Regions from separate parts of the Homo sapiens genome. Here all the other regions are linked to region 4. Evidence: promoter capture Hi-C in 16 types of primary human blood cells and fetal thymus (Javierre and others, 2016). All regions are on one chromosome and are shown on one strand. Each heading gives the region's core, a stretch centred on a gene start or on the middle of the fragment in contact. The rest is flanking DNA. Distances are from core to core; before and after follow the strand shown.

Evidence for each region. The method cuts DNA at HindIII sites, captures the fragments that hold promoters and counts their contacts. A CHiCAGO score of 5 or more calls a contact.
Region 1: a fragment that was not itself captured here is called in contact with the fragment with the promoter of KRR1 in region 4 in 15 of 17 cell types (total CD4 T cells, naive CD8 T cells, naive CD4 T cells and 12 more); the score reaches 17.7 in total CD4 T cells.
Region 2: a contact is called between a fragment that was not itself captured here and the fragment with the promoter of KRR1 in region 4, in 1 of 17 cell types (M0 macrophages). The highest score is 5.7, in M0 macrophages.
Region 3: a contact is called between a fragment that was not itself captured here and the fragment with the promoter of KRR1 in region 4, in 1 of 17 cell types (M2 macrophages). The highest score is 7.6, in M2 macrophages.
Region 5: a fragment that was not itself captured here is called in contact with the fragment with the promoter of KRR1 in region 4 in 5 of 17 cell types (activated CD4 T cells, M2 macrophages, naive CD8 T cells and 2 more); the score reaches 8.6 in activated CD4 T cells.

Annotation. Positions count from the first base shown.
Region 1 is chr12:76,057,260-76,059,959 of GRCh38, reverse strand. NAP1L1 (nucleosome assembly protein 1 like 1) reads left to right here. Exons shown (of 15, transcript NM_004537.7): 6 at 82-162. It also overlaps the pseudogene DENRP2. Among named protein-coding and RNA genes, the nearest start is that of NAP1L1, 26 kb to the left of the region's middle. The HindIII fragment of the contact is 7,125 bases long and covers 1-2,700 here.
Region 2 is chr12:76,311,723-76,314,422 of GRCh38, reverse strand. No RefSeq gene overlaps it. Among named protein-coding and RNA genes, the nearest start is that of BBS10, 35 kb to the left of the region's middle. The HindIII fragment of the contact is 7,990 bases long and covers 1-2,700 here.
Region 3 is chr12:76,285,999-76,288,698 of GRCh38, reverse strand. All of the region lies in intron 1 of LNCOG (lncRNA osteogenesis associated), which reads right to left. Among named protein-coding and RNA genes, the nearest start is that of LNCOG, 27 kb to the right of the region's middle. The HindIII fragment of the contact is 2,393 bases long and covers 85-2,477 here.
Region 4 is chr12:75,510,246-75,512,945 of GRCh38, reverse strand. KRR1 (KRR1 small subunit processome component) reads left to right here and starts at 1,337. Exons shown (of 10, transcript NM_007043.7): 1 at 1,337-1,433. The coding sequence starts at 1,349. RefSeq lists enhancers at 1,370-1,529, 1,036-1,579, 1,580-2,124. The HindIII fragment of the contact is 5,214 bases long and covers 1-2,700 here.
Region 5 is chr12:76,151,646-76,154,345 of GRCh38, reverse strand. No RefSeq gene overlaps it. Among named protein-coding and RNA genes, the nearest start is that of NAP1L1, 68 kb to the right of the region's middle. The HindIII fragment of the contact is 1,978 bases long and covers 340-2,317 here.

The DNA.
Region 1 (2,700 bases), core at 192-2,691, 550 kb before region 4:
AAGACTTCTTAGTGAGAAACCACTGGTTTTAGCTTGGATGCCAGTGTTTTTATACAGCCTTTTTTTTTTAAATCATTTTAGCGATTTGAAATTATTAATGCAATTTATGAACCTACGGAAGAAGAATGTGAATGGAAACCAGATGAAGAAGATGAGATTTCGGTTAGTACCAACTTTATTTTGGTATGTTTTTAAGATGATAAAATCTTAGGACTTGTCAGAAATGTTAGCATTTAATGATGGAGTACAATATTATATAACCAGTTGTATTTTTTCATTTTTTAATTTTACGTCTTTATTACACGTTTTTCTATTACTTTATTTTTAAAAAACAGTCATTCAAGATTGTAATTTGCATGGCAATAAGCAGCGGTTTCATGGGTTCTAAGTTTCTTAAGTGTCCACAGCAGTTTAAAACACCACAAGTCTTATTTCCAATTTGCAGCACCTGACTTAAAGTTCGAATTCATCTGATGGAGCATTAAAACTGTCATTTTCTCTTGTGAAAAGACATAATTGCTATTTCCAGGACTGTATATTGAACATGGTTGTACATTATTTTTAATTGGTTAGTAGAATTTTACTCATGTAATTTATATCCAGAATAAGAACCTCTAGCATCTCTGAATGGCCTTCCTCTCAGAACGATGATGATTAAATGTCTAAAATGTATCTGGGGTGCCCCCACTTGACATTACCAAACATGTTTCCAAATAATCTTAGAAAATATGATTCTTTAAACATATGCATACCACATCTTTAAACATAAACATACCACACAGTGCACCATCACTTCCTTAACCATTTTCCAATTGTTCACTTATAACATTTGCAATTTTTTATTATAAATCATATTGTGATGAATACTTTCATCCATAAGTTTTATTGCAAGGCTTATTGTTTCTTCTAATGTCTTCTAATTTCAAAGAAGTGGCTTACTGGTTCAAACAGTGCACATACGTGGTTTTAAGGCTTTTAGTATACTTTACCAAATAATCTCCAGAATAGCTCCAACAACTCCTACCAACAGTATGTTATTGTGCCCATAGGGTGGACTTGATAACAGCAAAGCAAATTCAACCACAGATATATTAGATTCTCACCCATCTCAAAACTATCACATCAGAGAAGCAAGGAGACATATTATTGGTGAGGAAGCCAAATTCAAATTCTTTTAAAAAATCACTCAGCTTTAGATCAGTAAAATAATCAACAAAAATGGTCACCGCAAAGTCTACCGGGTTTTTCAAAAAATAAAAAGAGAGAAAGAGAAAGGCCAGGCGCAGTGGCTCATGCCTGTAATCCCAGCACTTTGGGAGGCCTAGGTGGGCCAATCACTAGGTCAGGAGTTCGAGACCAGCCTGGCCAACATGGTGAAATCCCATCTCTACTAAAAATACAAAATATTAGCTGGGTGTGGAGGCGGGTGCCTCTAATCCCACCTACTCGGGAGGCTCAGGCAGGAGAATCACTTGAACTCGGGAAGTCGAGGTTGCAGTGAGCCGAGATCGCACCACTGCGCTCCAGCCCAGGCGACAGTGTGAGACTCCGTCTCAAAAAAAAAAAAAAAAAGTACCAAATAACCAAAATTTTTTATTTGACTAAATTCTGTTCATGTATGAGCATGACAGTCTCTCCTGTTTATTTGACTTTGGCAATAAAAAAATAAGCAGCCTTGTACAGAACAGGGAAAATGCCAAGAACGAAGGCAGTCTACAGTTTTACTGTAGAATACATATATATATATATATATATATATATATATGTAGGCCTCTCTCCCTTTGGCCATATCTACTGTCAGTTCAGGCCATTAACTACAGACAAATTTTCAAATTCACTTCTTCTCCAAGATCTTCGATGCTGTCATCATCTACTTCTGTCTGTTTTTCCTGAATGACCTCAATTATGTCATCTGTAAAGTCTCCTTGAATGATAATTTCATCCTCCTCTGTTACTGAGGCACCACAGGAGAATTTTTGAGCAAAAAATCTTTGTGTGATTTAAGATCAATTTCAAAAGTTACAAGGCCACAACCCTTGTCACATATTTCTTTGCTCTGGGAATTTTGGCTATAGTAACCTTTTGTGGTACCGTCTTTGTTTTTTTGTTTTATTTGACCCCTTCCACCTCTCTTCTGTTTTTTCTTCTCCTCTTCTTCCCCTGCTGTTCCTTGACCTTGACAGATTCCAGCTTCTTGTTTGGGTGAATTTTCCACAGTAAGTTTTGCATATTCATTTGGAAAATTCTTCTCTAATCATTGTCTACATTTAGCAACATCAGGCATATATTCACAGTACTCTATTGGTAATGAACAGACTCCACAATAAAGGACTCAAAGTAGGTAATCAGCATCTAACTTGGCTCTGTTCCTTGGGTCTCCTTTGCAGTCAGCCCTATTGGAATCGGAAACGTCAGCAGCCATTTCACAAACCCAGGCAGTTGCACAGGCCCCGCCAGCTCTGCTCCCGCCACTGTTGCCAGCTGAGCCGACAAATGCAACTCGTTTCCCCGGCCAGGGCCTCCCTAGAGCATCAGTTGTATTTTTATACCTAGGAAATATTTTTCCTTTTTGTAAGAATGATAATGCAGATGAACTGTTATTCAACCTGGCACCACCATCTGTACTCAAAAAGTCATTATTTCCTTACATTTTATAGTTTTTTTGTTTAAGAGACAGGGACTTGCTGTGTTGCCCAGGCT
Region 2 (2,700 bases), core at 135-2,634, 800 kb before region 4:
GCAACCTCTGCCTCCCAGGTTCAAGCAATTCTCCTTCTTCAGCCTCCCAAGTAGCTGGGATTACAGGCACCTGCCACCACGCCCTGGCTAATTTTTGTATTTTTAGTAGAGACAGGGTTTCACCGTGTTAGCCAGGCTGGTCTTGAACTCCTGACCTCAAGTGATCTGCCCACCTCAGCCTCCCAAATTGCTGGGATCACAGGCATGAGACGTCATGCCCAGCGCTCCTGTGTTCCAATTTTCCTACTTTCTGGCCCTGGAGCAATTGAGGCCACTTTAGAGAAGTGACAGCTTGACCACCACGTGAGATCATCTGAGGTCTTAATTGTAAAATTCTATTTTAAAAATGCTAATATTGGGAGTGGTGATGGTGGTAAAATCATATTTTTATATTTTTAATATACATAATTTTATTTAATTAGTTACTTTCATGTTATCACCATCATTTTTATAATCACAAAAATTACTGTAATTTTGGATTTTAATATATGTCAGACACAATGGCATATTCTTTACATGCATTATTCCCCTAAATTTTGAGGTACATGTTATTCCCCATTTCCTAAATAAGAAGCTGGGGCTTACTGAGGTTAAGTATTTGCCCAAGGTCACGGAATCAGTAAGTGGGAAGCCAGGACTCAAATTCTGTGGATTTTGAGTTAAAGTCCATGACTGTAACTACTCTGCTCTTCTGGCAAAATGATGAGGACAGATATTTCCTTTCCTAAATCTTAATTTTTTCACCAGTAACGATGTTCATAGCTCACATCTGTCTTATTTTTTATAGAGAAGAAGGGGCTTGGATATTTGAAAAGGGTTTTTCTGCCAAAAAGAGGAGAGAGAGAAGGATGAAGAGGCACCCAGCACTGCCAATGCAGGCATGAAGCCAAACCCGTTTGTCTTCCCTGGTATACAGAGTGACCACAGGGGACATTTTAAAAGCTCTAGGGAGTTAGAGAGTGCTGAAGAAGAAATCTGGGCAGCAGGGCTGCGGCCAGCCTTTCAGCAGTTTGTGCTGGGAGCTGCTCCCCAATGAGACTTTCACCTCAGCTGGGTTTGCGCGCCGTACTCCCTAGGCTGAAAGTTCTCTGGATCGGTCTCCTCGAAGCAGTGCTCCCGACAGGCAGCACTGAGCCTTTCACCTGGAAGGAGGAAAAGAAGGGTTTCGTAGACACAAATGGGGAGGAAGGCGAGGGCTGCCCTGTTACTGCGATGCCCTCATCAGCCAAGTCTGGGCTGCTCCCTTTTTTTTTTTTTTTGAGACTGAGTCTCACTCTGTCGCCCAGGCTGGAGTGCAGTGGCGCGATCTCGGCTCACTGCAAGCTCCGCCTCCCGGGTTCACACCATTCTCCTGCCTCAGCCTCCGGAGTAGCTGGGACTACAGGGCCTGCCACCACGCCCGGAGAATTTTTTGTATTTTTAGTAGAGACGGGGTTTCACCGTGTTAGCCAGAATGGTCTCGATCTCCTGACCTTGTGATCCTCCCGCCTCGGCCTCCCAAAGTGCTGGGATTACAGGCGTGAGCCACCGCGCCCAGCCCGCTGCTCCCTCTTTTTAAAGAGTGGCTCCTCCCCCTGTTCTAGCTTTCAGGTCTGACCAGAAACAGTCTCTTCTTTGACTCTGCCTCCTTGACCACAGTGAGTGGTCCAGGGATAAGCAAGTCAGATTGACTGAAGTGGGGAGAAGGCTCTCAAAGGTCCTGAGACTGTAAGATGTAAGAGACTCTGAAGAAATGAAAATTTTCCACTGTAGGCCTCCATGTCCTTGTCCACTGTAGCTGTTCCTCCCCACCCCCGCCGCTCACACATGACCGGACTGTTCCTCCCACTCCTCTTGGTAAAATCCAAGTTGTCCAAACAGTGACCGCTAATTGCTAAAGAAAATTCCTTCCTTTTCTAGGAACCATCTTTGTTCTTAAAACAAAGTGAACTTGAGCTGACCCTGCCTGCTGAAGCCCTATAAAAAATTCCACCCTCCTTCCCAAGTTAGAACGCTCCTTTTCACGCCGGCATTACTGAAAGGCTTATGCTAATGGTGTTCTTGGTTTTTTCCACAGAGGATATAAGTTAAGAGATGTTGAGATGCTAGCAGCAGGTCTACAGCTTGTGGAGAAGCCAGTCTGGGAGAAGGAAATTAACGTGCAAACAGGTTAAGAAATAAGTGGTAGAGGGAGAGACAGAGAGATCCCCTCGCGTTTAATTTTCCATCTTGCTTCTCTAAGACCAGGATTCTTCCCTGTTCTTCTCATTTTTGGTTATGTAAGTAAATTAGTTAAAAATGTAAGATTAAAAAAAGGAGCACCACAACATCTTCACATGTGGCTGTGCAAACGTAATGTTATAACTGTATACTGAAAGAAATTCGAATTTAGAGCCTCGGTGTCCAGGAATAAGGGTAAACATTATCTTGTCCTTTCACATAGCTCTGTCAGCTCACTCTCTTCTGGGTAAATGATGAGTCAGAAACACAGGATTCTTCTCTCATTCAATGCCACCCTCACTTCTGGGAATGAATAAGTTGCTGGAGAATCAGGATGTTGAAGAGTAATTTTTAAAAAACCCATGCAATTACACAATGCCAAAAATCTTGTTTCACTTATTATTTATTTATTTTTACTTATTTATTTTTTTTGAGACGGAGTCTCGTTCTGTCGCCCAGGCTGGAGTGCAGTGGCACAATCTCGGCTCACAGCAAGTTCTC
Region 3 (2,700 bases), core at 32-2,531, 780 kb before region 4:
TATAATAGTGTCCGCATGCTGTTTTTCTTAGTTTAAGCCTCTAATAGCTGTTGCATATTTTCTTATATAAAGTCTGTGCAAGCTTCTTTGGGCAATAGTTATATTAATCCAGTTTAGTAACACTGGGGATCACATAAGAAATGAATCAGTTACTTAACAACTTCTGGTTGATTAAAAAAAATTCTTTCAAAAGATAGCAAGTATGAGAAAGGATAAAAGCATTCCTTGGTGGTAACATCACTAATCATCAAGGATATACAAATCAAAACCACAGTGCAATATCATTTCACACCTGTTTAAAATGGCTATTATCAAAAAGATGAGGCAATTTTTGGCAAGAGTGTGGAGAAAAGGAGACCTTTGTACATGGTTGGTGGGAATGTAAATTAGTATAATCAATATGGAAAACAGAACAGAGGCTCCTCAAAGCTAAAAATAGAAATACCATATATCCAGCAATCTATCTATGGGTGCATAACCAAAGGAAATGAAATTACCACCCCCATGTTTATGCATTATAATTATGCAGCATAATTTATTGCAGCATAATTCACAATATCCAAGATCTAGAAACAATAACCAAGATATGGAAACAACCTAAGTGTCCATTGATGAATGAATAGATAAAGAATTTATGGTACATGTCTACAATGGAATATGATTCAGCCTTAAAAAAGAGAGATCTTGCCATTTGTGACATGGTTGAACCTAGAGGACGTTATGCTAAGTGAAATAAGCCAGACATGGAAAGAAGAGTACTATATGATCTCATTTATGTGCAATCTAAAAAGAAAAACAAAGCTCAAATGCATAGAAACAGAATAGAACAGGGGTGGGGAGATGAAGAGACAGAAGTCAAAGGGTAAAAAGTTAGTTATGTAGGATGAAGAAATCTGGAGATCTAGTGTATAACATAACTATCCTATAGTTAATAGAATTGTATTTTATACTGAAAATTCACTGAAAGTAGACCTTATGTACTTTTGCCACCCACACTAAAAAAGTAACTATGTGAGATGATGAATATGCTAATTTGCTTCTTGACTGTAGTGACCATTTCATTATGTATGTTTGTCAAGACATCATGTTGTACACCTTAAATATATACTATTTTTTTTTTTAAATTACTTGGTGGTAGAAATTAGCAAACACTAATCTAGGCCAGCTCTCTTATTTTAGTGGTGTGCAAACTGAGACAGAAGGCCCTAGCTGAGGAACTAGCCCAAGGTCATAACCTACTCAATAGCTGGCACAGGGCTGGAAAGCAGACCCTCACACTCTAGCTCGGTGCTGGTCTACCGAGAGTTTCCCATTTCTACTGGGAATTGCTATTGACACATGCAGGGCAGAGGAAAAGGAAACTAATAATTGTTGAAGGCTTAATATTTACAAGTCACTGTATGGATGCTTTATTATGTATTATCTCCTTTCTCCTCTGCACACACACGCACACACATGTGTGCACACACACCCACACAAAACCCTATGAAGTGGCTCTTAATTTCCTTTCTTTCTCTCTCCTTCTTCCTCTTTTTCTTCTTTCCTCCTCCATCCCTCCCTCCCTCCCTTCCTTCCCTTTCTTTCTTTCTACAAAACTGAGACCATCAAGGATTAAGAAATGCTGCCCAAGTCAGCCAAGTCTAAAGTGTCTCTCCAAATCTAGAATATTTCAGGATATTTACATGGCTCTCAGGTGCACACCTTCCTGTTTTTGAGAAAAGTTCATGGGATGGGAACCTTGAAAGGTCCTGGGAAAAATATGGTGGCCTAGTGCTCAAGAGAGTACTAGAGAAAATGGTAAAAGTCCCAGGTAAACCAGAAAATTCTTCAAACCCAGTTCTTTTCAGATTTTGTATCTGGCCTGAACCACATTATCTGCCTCCCTCTACTCTCCAGTTCTCTGTCTCTACTGGCACAGCCCAGCCCCTCTCTCCTCCCCTAACCTTCTGAGATCTCCACTAAGGGACAGTCTAAGCAATGGAAATAGGCAACTTTGCCCTTTATCTCTAGGTCCTTCCTCTATCCTGACACGGCTATCTAGTTGCAAATCCAGATATCAAGTTGAACTTCAAGTTTACAATGTGTCAATCTTCAACTAGCTCCTCTTCCACTATTTCCCATTTCTGCAATGGCATTATGATCTCCCCAGTCAGCGAGGCTTGACCCTCAGAAATCTCTCTTGTCTCACATCGTTGCAGGTCTAAGCCCTGTAGGAGCCACTCCCTAATTTCCTTCACAGTCTTTCCTACCATCCACAGCCACCACCAATTCTCCATCACAGACTTCATAGCCCCTCACCTGGATTACTGCGATGACCTCTTGCTTTCCTGTCCCATCTCAATCACTCTCTCATTCTATCCATCCCATTTCCATATCTTGCCAGGTTAATTTTTTTGAAAGCTCAGCCCTGATCATGTCATATGACTCCTTAAAAACTGCCAGTGTTTTCCTGTCACTACCAAGGTAAATACAAAGCTTGACTCATGTTCAAGCCTCACCCAATTTCATTTCTCATCTCCAGTATCCCTATAGCATCTTCTATGGATGACAACAGTAAACTGCTTCTATACCATTATTTCCCCCGACTCTTCCATCTCAAAGCTTTTCCATCTCCATGGAGCAGTTGATACTACCGTTCCCTTTTCCTGGGATGCCTCCACATTCAAGACAAGGGATGAAAGGAAGGATGATAGGAAAATT
Region 4 (2,700 bases), core at 88-2,587:
GGCTTTAACACAAATATTATTTCTAGACTATTCCCTCCCCTTAATCCCTATCAGCCCTCTAACACATTTGAAGCTCCTAATGAATAGTAGCCCCCTGAAGCTGCTAGGTCAAACTGCCTGAACTTGAAGACGGGCCTTCCACTTATTAGTGATTGAGTTACTTAAAATAAGAATGATAAAAACCTGCTTCATGAGGTGTACTCCTCACTTTATAACTTTCACCTGCTGCTATCTGTTCTATTTTAGGAATTTATCATTTTTTGAGGAAATTAAAAGAACAGAGATAAAATCCCTGTCATTTATAAAACTCACAGGATAAAAACAAAAAACCCCTCTGTCGTGGGTTCTTCTGTCCATATGTAACAATCTGTTTCATACCTGGATCTCATATATGAAAACCTAAATTATTGTATAAGATACACGAGAGTGGATTTATCAGACAAACGTGTATTTCACTAATGCAAGGAATTTAACCTATCAAAGACTTTCCCTATTTGCTGCAGAAAATTTTAGAAATGCAAGCAATAAAATCAAAATTTAAAAAAATCTTATATTTGGCATGTCGAAGAACTCTTATACTTCCAAAAGTGTAGTTATTTGTAGTTAGTGATGAACCTCTCTACACATCTTAGCCCTATGTAATGTTGGGGGTAGAAAAGGAGTTTAGAGATTTTGAGAAATCTTAGGCTAGTTGAAATACTTCAGAAACGTCAGGATGTTGAATTACCATCCCTCTGACTTAGAGAAATACCAACACTCGGGAAGATTACCATCAGAAACAACTTTGAAAAGTTTAATTTTGTCACTGTTTTTAAAATTAGAAATAATGTAAATAAAGTACTGAAACAAAGTAGTCTCACAATAAATAGTAGCTATTCCTGTCACTTGTTGCAGTGGAGGCCCAATATACATTGTATTCTCATATTTGTACTTCCTCCCAACATCTAGCGCATATTTGGCCAACATATAAATATTTATCGAAAGAATGAATGACATCAATGACAGGTTGGTAGCACTCCGCTGTCCGATGGTCCAGGTTAGGCCGTGAGGCCACGAGGAAACTACGGATAAAACAGTATCCAATTTGCCTATACCGCCTGCTAAACTACAAGTCCCAGTACGCAAACTCCATGGTTTCAGGGCATACTGGGAGAAAGTCTCCGGCTCTTCATTGGCCACGTAGGAGAAGCTGTGGTTTGTGTAAAAGCGCGGGCTTAACGCACGTACGCACGGAGACTGCGCAGATCTCCTCGTCTGAGTTCCGCGGAACTCATTTTGAGTGTAGGCGTTTTAGCCGGTAGGGTTTAAGAACAGTTTCATTTCCGGAGCCACCGGAAGCAGCTTGCAAATGGCGTCTCCCTCGCTGGAGCGGCCAGAAAAAGGCGCTGGAAAAAGTGAATTTCGTAACCAGAAGCCGAAGCCGGAGAACCAAGGTGATGTTATGTGGGAACCGAAGCCTGGGGTTTGTGTACGTTGAGTTGCGATGTTTTTTTCTTTCGTTCCTCGTGGACTTATAAAACCACCTGGAGCCTGTACTGTGTAGTTGAGTACCTGAATAATCGCTGATAAGATTTTGGCTGGGCCCACAGGAACGGCTGGCCGATATGGTGCCACCCAGGTGTTCCTAATTCATTGCTTTTGCTAAAGGGTCCCCAAAGCGAAGCTGTTGCGGATTACGTCTTTTGTAAAAGGATGAGTATTAAGAAAATGCCTAGGGCGACGCAGAACCTTGTAAGCCTGCGGGTGGCTGAAAGTCACTGACGGAATGAGGAATAGGGTGAGGTGGGAATAGGTAGTCATGATATACAAGAGTGGACCCTGATAATGGGGTGAGGTATGGGGAAAGGAGCTATCCGACATGTCCTTAGCTCTAGTTTGTCAGTAAAGACATTTTGAAAGATTATCAATTCCTGTTTGTCAGATGCTAAAATATTAGACGACACAGCCCTTACTGTTTAGGTTGTGTTACCTTTTAATTGTTAACTCCTGCGTTGTAGTCTGGTTTTACCCGTTTTCTTCAGTGTGAATGATAGAGAAGTCATAAATAGCCTGGGGATCTGTTCAACCAGGCTTATAGGAAGTGTTAAAAACATTGAACTCTCAATTTAGATGCATTGGGAAAGTATTCAAAGTTTCTTTGTTGTTGCTCATTAAATGATTATGTAACGTACATAGCAGGGGATACAACTTATATAGAGTTTAATAAAACCATGCGGGAAACTAGCATTCAGACTAAGTAAAATAGAGCATTACCATACCCCTCAAACCCTTACGTGCACCTCTCAGATCATATTCTCTTTTCCTGTATCAGACGTAACCACCCTGAATTGTGTTGCATTCTGTTCCTCTTCTTGTAGTCATGAAGTGGCTTAATTTAGCCTGTTTTTTAATTTTATATACATGAAAGTGGACCGTATGCATTTTTCTGTGTCTTCTTAGATTTAGCTTTTTGTTTTTCAAACAGGGTGATACTTGCGGGTGTAGTTTTAGTCTTTTCACTGTTATGTGGTGTTTCCTTGTATGAATATACCCCAATTTATTTTTTCATTTTACTATCGGTGGACATTTGGATTGTTCCCAATTGCTTGCAATTATAAACAATACTGCTAAAACATCTTTGTACATGTCTTCTGGTTAACATGTTCAAGGGTTTCTCTAGGTTGTGAACATAGGATTGGAATCACTGAAGTGTAGGGTGTG
Region 5 (2,700 bases), core at 79-2,578, 640 kb before region 4:
GGCGGGTGAATCACTTGAGGTCAGGAGTTTGAGACCAGCCTGGCCAATATGGTGAAGACCCGTCTCTACTAAAAATACAAAAATTAACTGGGCGCGGTGGTGAGTGCCTGTAATCCCAGTTACTTAGAAGGCTGAGGCAGGAGAATTGCTGGAACCTGGGAAGTGGAGGTTGCAGTGAGCCAAAATCACACCACTGCCCTCCAGCCTTGGTGACAGAGTGAGACTCAGTCTCAAAAAAAAAAGTGCATATATATATATATATATAAATTTATATATATATTATATATATACACACACACAATGGCGGATGCTTTGTCTATATTTCTAAAATGTTAAGCTTCATACAAACTATGTACTGGTGGTGAATTGCAAAAATGACTATAATTTTTTCCCATCTCTGTAAGCATACCTCTTTAAAATGTGAATTTGAAGCTCCTCCCACCAAGAGGTAGATTCTATTTCACCATACCTTGCGTCTGGGCTTGGCTGTGTGACTTGATTTAGAAAATGAGACTAGCAAATAAGAAGCAAGCAGAGACTTGCACATTATGCCTTGTTCTCTTTTGCTGTGGTTAGAACCCTGAGATCTCCATGTGGAGGAGCCCAAACTGGCATGCTGAAAGATGAAAGGAGAAAGTATGAAGTGTCCCTGCCAGCCAGCTCCTAACCAACAACCTGCCAACGGCCGGACATGTGAGCAAGGCCATCCTAGACCATCCAGCTTCCAGTCAAATCTCCAGCTGACCACAGACAATATAAGCAAGCCCAGCAAAGAACAGGAAAGCAAACCTAGAGAAAAGCTACACAACCAGCCTGCAGAATTATGAGTGAAATAAGTACTTGCTGTTTTAACCAGCTAAATTTGTTATGCAGCAATAGCTAGCTGATATTGCACTCAGTAAATAATTATTAATTCAGATTTCTCAGAATGAGTATGAAAATGAAAAAGTAATTATGTATATTTAGAACAAAGCAAAGAGAAATCTGCTAAATAGAATAGAAACTGGCAGACATAAGGCTGATTTTTCTTCTTGAATTAAAATAAATAAATAAATAAATGAAGCAATAGAGGCCAGGTGCAGTGGCTCATGCCTGTAATCCCAGCACTTTGGGAGGCCAAGGCGGGCACATCACCTGAGGTCGGGAGTTGGAGACCAGCCTGACCAACATGGAGAAACCCCATCTCTAATGAAAATATACAATTAGCCGGGCATGGTGGTGCATGCCTGTAATCCTAGCTACTCGGGAGGCTGAGGCAGGAGAATTGCTTGAACCCGGGAGGCGGAGGTTGAGGTGAGCCAAGACCATGCCATTGCACTCCAGCCTGGGCAACAAGAGGGAAACTCCGTCTAAAAAAAAAAAAAAACCAATAGAAACAAATTTGTAACTCAACTTTTATTTATTTATTTTTTGAGACAGGATCTCACTCTGCAGTGGTGTGAGCATGGCTCACTGCAGCTTCAACCTCCTGGGCTCAAGCAATCCTCCCACCTCAGCCTCCTGAGTAGCTAAGACTACAGGTAAGTGCCACCATGCTCAGCTAATTTTTTAATTTTTGTTGTTGTTGTTTCAGAGACAAGTTTTCACTATGTTGCCCAGGCTGGTCTCTAACTCCTGGACTCAAGCAATCCTCCCACCTCAGCCTCCCAAAGGGCTGGGATTACAGGCATGAGCCACCACACCTGGCCTGTAACTCAACTTTTGATTCACCTGCCACTCTGACCAGTTCTATGAATCTGCTGAGTTCATTCTGGGCCTCATTCAAAATAATACTGACTCCTTGCCGCATTGAAGTGTGGGGAGGACTAATAAACCTTTCTTTCTTGTTCAAAAAGAATCCTGGGATCCTTGAATGAGGTAGGAAAGACAGAGCATTATTGCTGACACAGAAGCACGTCAATGGTTTCTGCATTGATATGTAGCAACAGAGAAGCCTCTTTAGGAAAGGGATGGGCTGGTTCCGCAGCCAGGGATAGAAACTAGAGAAAGCAGTAGGTGGGTACAGGAAGTGCAGGGAGGCATATGAGTATGTGAATTTCAGACATGTTCCTATTTTTAGTGTTGGCTAGGCAGTATCTGTATTTTTGTCTGTTCAAACAGCATACCTTCTCAGGAAGGAGGATAAAAACATCGGTATATATAGGGAAGATAAAAACATAGGTTTAGCATTTGCAGCACAAATTGCAAACTTTTTAAAGATTTAACTTTTCCAGCAGCTTGTCTGCTAATACTTAATAGCCAAAGTATAGAATATAATAGTTTTGCTGAGACTAAAATATTTTACTGATTTGAAAAGACTTTCAAAGTCAGAAAAGCTTATAAAATAAATAAAATCTGTTTGTACATTTTAATAACTCAAGACTATGGTTTTTAGGGAAAAAAATTACTTTTTTCACCCAAAATCAAATTTCAGTGTTAAATGTCCCTCTATACAGTCTGCACCAATAAGTCCCAAACTCTGATTACTAGCGTTCCTAAGGCACTTTTCAAAAATTTCTCTAGCGACCTCAGCCTCACTTATGGATATTCTGACCAAGTGGAACATAGGACTCTATTTTCTTTCTTCCTTTTTTTCTTTTCTTTTTTTTTTTTGAGACAGAGTTTCGCTCTTGTTGCCCAAGCTGGAGTGCAGTGGTGCAATCTCGGCTCACTGCAACCTCCAACCTCCCTCTGCCTCCCAGGTTCAAGCGATTCTCCTGC